Regions from separate parts of the Homo sapiens genome. Here region 1 is linked to region 2. Evidence: promoter capture Hi-C in 16 types of primary human blood cells and fetal thymus (Javierre and others, 2016). All regions are on one chromosome and are shown on one strand. The core of a region is centred on a gene start or on the middle of the fragment in contact, and the rest is flanking DNA. Distances in the headings are between cores, read along the strand shown.

The links. The method cuts DNA at HindIII sites, captures the fragments that hold promoters and counts their contacts. A CHiCAGO score of 5 or more calls a contact.
Region 1: a fragment that was not itself captured here is called in contact with the fragment with the promoter of RPL36AL in region 2 in 2 of 17 cell types (naive CD4 T cells and non-activated CD4 T cells); the score reaches 6.6 in naive CD4 T cells.

Annotation. Positions count from the first base shown.
Region 1 is chr14:50,827,137-50,829,836 of GRCh38, reverse strand. All of the region lies in intron 2 of NIN (ninein), which reads left to right. Among named protein-coding and RNA genes, the nearest start is that of NIN, 2.7 kb to the left of the region's middle. The HindIII fragment of the contact is 164 bases long and covers 1,214-1,377 here.
Region 2 is chr14:49,619,348-49,622,047 of GRCh38, reverse strand. RPL36AL (ribosomal protein L36a like) reads left to right here and starts at 1,422. Exons shown (of 2, transcript NM_001001.5): 1 at 1,422-1,486. MGAT2 (alpha-1,6-mannosyl-glycoprotein 2-beta-N-acetylglucosaminyltransferase) reads right to left here and starts at 1,249. Exons shown (of 1, transcript NM_002408.4): 1 at 1-1,249. The coding sequence starts at 779. RefSeq lists silencers at 758-867, 1,168-1,377 and enhancers at 599-1,149, 1,538-1,647. The HindIII fragment of the contact is 17,089 bases long and covers 1-2,700 here.

The DNA.
Region 1 (2,700 bases), core at 46-2,545, 1.2 Mb before region 2:
ACAGTCACTGCTTCCAGCTCTCGCTGCGAAGTTAAAAGAGATAGAGACGGAAAGAGGCAATTTCCCTAACCCCAGCCCTGACAACCCGAGGTGAAGGCACCAACAAAATGGGAGCTGGAAAGACTGCCCTACCATATATCATGTTTCCAGACAACTTGGATATTATGAGATCTGCTTTCTGCTCCTAACTAGGACAGATCCTCTCCTGGTGTTGAGGACTTCTAAGATGGGCTTGCCATACAGCTCAACTCCTGAATTTATTACATCGAAACAGATTGCGTAGTTGTCTTTTGTGACTGACATGGTAGCTTTGTAGGATGAGAATCCTGATAAAGTCCATCCTGACACATGAGGGAAGCCCCTGGAACCACGACGTTTCTCAGTTAGGTCCCCGTAAACACCATAACATACACACATGTTTGCATGATTCCGGAGGCTTGATGATCTAACAAGGAAAATTCCTTTTTTCTGTCAGTTTAATTTTACCTTGAGTCTTCTCTCGTGGTGAGCATATTATATAGGTGGCTGACCTGGAATATTGGTGGCTCTTGCTCCGGAGTTGAAGGGAGCTGAGGATTTCCAGAGTGTGTATAGGAGGAACATTACAGGCTGGCTGAAAAACGAGTTTGTGTGTTGTGGTCTCTTCAGCTATTGTCAGTGTCCTTTGGGAGGTGATGTGAACTGCCCGGGAATTTGTTTGCAGATTTGTTTATTTTCCCTGTTCTCTGGTGATTCTTTAGAGGGAAGCATTCTGCAGAGTGGGGAAAAGGTAGGATGAATGTTCCACAGGGTTGGACATCGGCAAAGTTATTACCAATACAGGGAAAGGCTTCACAGGGGGCAATAGAGAGGAAGCCATCATACAGTCTGCATTAAAATGTCAAGGATCAGTCATTTTAATAGGCACTTGCTCAGAATGGCGTGGGGTTCTTTTTTCTTATTTCTTTTTCATTTTAGATGTGTAATGACCCTTAATATCAAAAGATGTTAACTGTCACAGAGGGGGAGAATAGGGCTCCAGTGAATTCTGAACAGCCAATCTTAATGTAATAGGCAGTATTCTTATCATGAGTCAAATGTTCAAATAAATTGTTTTAAATGTCACTGCAAATGACTTTCTAAACTAACATTTCAACTATCTTGATGCTTCCATTTTATGTTGATAATGAAAATGCATTTTATCAGTCTTACATTGATAAAGGGTGGGCAAGCTTAGCCAGAGCATTTTAGAAGGATTTAAACAGCGTGAAGCCTTTTTAGAAGGCTTATTTTTATAGATGCCAATTCATTTGTAAGCCAATAAATTATCTGGTTTGAATTCTAGCTATTGAACTTGCATCTGTTGGGCAGGGGCTTATGGAGAGACTTAGTGAAGCTTGCAAAAAGATTTTTATCCTATTTATGAATAAAATAGAATTTTGAAAAGATTATGAGATTCTGAAAGTGAGCATCCTTGTTTGAAATTAGGACACTTCTTTATTGCAATTTAAGTCAGCAATTAACCATTTATTCAAGCTTTTGGATGGAAAAATTACAAAGCATCTATCTATACCCTAATTCTCACTTTAAAAACAAAGTTGGGAAAATATTGTTCATAGACGTGAGAAGAGAAGATCACCTTCACTTACACCTCAGGGTACCATACTCATAGCCTCAGGCATCCTAAATTAATGTGAGTCAATATGGCTTAAGAAGTGGAAGTTGTTATAAGCTTTCTCCTTTTTTTTTTTTTTTGTAACAAACATGCAGCTCTGTTTTCTGCTTCTGTAATTTACTTAGTAGTTGATTACAGGTTACTGAATGCACATTGTGCCAGGCTAATGGCGTTTTTTTGTTGTTGTGTTTTTTGTTTTTTGTTTTTTTTTTCCTGTAGCTAACCTGAGTTAACTACTTGATTGGGTAATCTACCAGTTATTAGGTTGAACAAAAGCATGGGTTTATTACATCCTTCAGGATAGTAAAATAATAAAGGTTGCTTACATTTTCGAATAAACGCTGATAGGATTCCCTTAGTTAAATATTATAGTGTAGTTGACAAAGGTTGTTATTTTTCTTTTTCTTTCTTTTTTTTTTTTTTTTTGATACGGAGTCTCTCGCTCTCTCCTGGGCTGGAGTGCAATGGCATGATCTCGGCACACTGCAACCTCTGCCTCCCAGGTTCAAGCAACACTTCTGCCTCAGCCTCCCGAGTAGCTGGGATTACAGGTGTGCGCCACCACACCTAGCTATTTTTTTTTTTTTTTTTGTATTTTTAGTAGAGACAGGGTTTCAACGTGTTAGCCAGGATGGCCCCGATCTCCTGACCTTGTGATCCACCTGCCTCAGCCTCCCAAAGTGCTATGATTACAGGCATGAGCCCCCGCTCCCAGCCATTTTTTCAAATGTATTTAATGTGACTTTCTTCCTGTGCATTTAAGCTTTCGTGTTATATTTTTGTATCATGATTTCATTCACAGTGATATTGTTGTGCTTTTGGTATCCAGCTAGAAGTGAGACACTGAGCAGAGAGGAGGCATTCTGACAGTAATCAGTTTGCTGCTAAGCAGCACTGGTTTTTGGCGGAAGTATTCTCCTATATAAACTCGTAAATGGCTGCAACTGCTTTTTCTATTGAGCTTTTACTAAACTTGAATTTATCCTTGTCACTCTTTCCTTTTATACTGAAAGTAGTCCAATATGGTGAGCCTGAAAATCTGTGCA
Region 2 (2,700 bases), core at 173-2,672:
TCTTCTAGGAAAAGTATAAGGCCAGCATAATCTCGAAGAATTTTCACTCTTTCCCACACAAAATGCAGCTTCCACCACCAGTGATGTTTGGTCTGGGAGAATTTGGCCTCTCTATAATGGCCGAAGGAGTCGGGATACTCAGCATTGATGCACCCCAATTTCAAAGCGGCATTCTTCGGCAGGTCTCTGGGACAATCTCTAGGGTCACTACCTGGAAACTCGTTAGGGTACAACTGAATGCTGAAAGGAAAGAACACCTGCAGAACCGGACAGAAATTCACCCCGGCGATCAGCTGATTGATCTCGGTCGACCAGAAGTCATGGCTAAAGATGACGAGGACGTTGTCAATTCCCTGGGCTTTTCGAAGTGAGTCCAGCAGCAGTCTGAGGTATTCGGGCCGGTTATGCACCTGGACCACCAGCACCAGCTCCCGGGGGGCCCAGGTGCCAGCCTTATCTACATTCCTCAGGGTCTGATCAAAGTTCAGCTGGTACACCAGGGACCGGTACCGCAGCGTCAGGTTGTCCGCCTCGGGCTGGGGGACCGCCGGGACCAGGGAAGCCGCCGACACGTTGGAGACCCTGCGGATGCCCACAGCCACAGAGGGGTGGTCCCCACCGCGGCCGCCGGCACCCCGCGCGGGTTCGGCGTCCAGCAACGGTGGGGCGAGGGCCTCGTTCTTCCTTTGTCGCCCATTGCTGCTCCAGAGGACGAAGCCGCAGGCGGCCACCACGAGCGTCAGGATTAGCACCTTCCGTTTGTAGATGCGGAACCTCATGGTCTCCAGGGCCGGGAGCGCAGGCGGGCGGGCGCGGAAAGGAGCAGCTGCTTCTGCACGGAAGGGGCGGGCGGGCGGCGGCCGTCGCCTTGGCCTGTCACGGTCGGAACTGGCCCCCGCGGCTGCCCTCGCTAACTCATCCCGGGCCCCGGGGGTCCTGGGGCCCGAGACCTCTCATTTACCCCGCGCCGCCTGCGCTCCACACATCCTCGCCTGGCAGCTACAGCTCGAGCATCGGCGCCGCCGCTAGGAGCCGCGGCTCGGCTTCGTCTCCGTCCTCTCCATTCAGCACCACGGGTCCCGGAAAAAGCTCAGCCGCGGTCCCAACCGCACCCTAGCTTCGTTACCTGCGCCTCCAGCGGCCCTGCGTCCTCTGCGCTCTCATCCTTACAGGGGCCCTAGACGGCCAGAACTGAGCGACGCGGCCTCGCCTCACTCCGGCGGGGACCGTTATGACAACCCGCAACTGCCCCGCGGCACACCGCGGCCCTCCGGCCCACACCCCTCCGGCCCGCCCCTTAGACCGTTGGTTGGTGCTTTCCAGACGCGACCGAAGGCGCCTGACCGCCGTGGCCGGCTGCCTATTGGTTTGCAGTACTGTCGCTCAGGTGCAGTTCCCACTTCCGCCTGTTTCTTCCCTTTCCTGTTAGGCGAGAGCTGCGAAAGGCGAGAGCTGCGAAGGGCCAGGTGTCGGGCGCTGTTTCTCGGTAAGCTAAGAACGAGGCTGTAGCGGCTCCAATAGGAGCCTCCCTTGCTCAGAATCCTGGGTAGGACTAGGCCTTCTTAGGAAAGGGAAGGCGAGACCTATGGCCCTCGCCGGCCTTAGTTCGAGAGCAGGCTTCTCCCTTCAGGAAAAAGGTCTCAGGCATGGCGGCTATAGAATCGCGGGGCGCGCCGGCTTGATAAGGACACGTCAGCCCTCGAGGCTGCTGACGGGTGACTGTGCTTCGGAGGGGAAAAGTGATACTACGCTGATGTGGTTCTCGTAGAAGGAACGGGGCGGGTCGTAACCGTAGCTACAACGTCGCGCGCTGCCCCAGCCATTCTCTAGAGCTGGAAAATGGAGGAGGTGGGTGGGGGGAAGGGGGTCAAAGAAACTCTGGTCCTTAACTTCCTTTTCGGAAGAAAATTAGATGAACCGCACTTTTCTTTTGGAGCAGTCACAATAAATTAAACTCATTTCGTACGGAAAACGGACTGTATTGGGCCTCCTAAAGCTGCTGCTGTCGGTTTTCGTGAGTCTTGTTCTATATGAGAAAAGAAGAATGGCTCGGAGCATTGTTAATTATTTGAGATGTGCAAAATTTGCCGGGCCCAGAGAGACAGCAGTATGGGACTTCAGACACCTCCCCACTTAATGCCTGGCATTTTATTCCTGACTAGCTGCTTCACCCATTATGTCCGCGTTCCTGGAATTTGTCATGAAAAGAATGATGTATAGCCAATCAATCGCTTGTGTTATTTTAATGTAAATTCTTGGTAGACAATTTAGGAACTGCCATTTTTTCCTCTAAAAACCCACTTGCAACTGCTGCTACTCAGGGCATTTTGAATCTGTGCTCTGGGTTGCAATCCTCAAACTTGCCCCAAATAAACATTCTACTTATATGAATTGTGCCTCAGTTCTTTTTTTTTTTTGAGACGTAATTCCGCTGTTGTTGCCCAGGCTGGAGTGCAATGGTGCGATCTCGGCTCACGGCAACCTCCGCCCCTCCCCACCCCGCCCAAGCGATTCTCCTTACAGGTATGCACCACCACCACGCCAGGCTAATTTTGTATTTTTAGTAGAGACGGGGTTTCTCCATGTTGGTCAGGCTGGTCTCGAACTCCGGACCTCAGGTGATCCGCCCTTCTCGGCCTCCCAAAGTGCTGGGATTACAAGCATGAGCCACCGTGCTCGGCCTTGCCTCAGTTCTTTAGG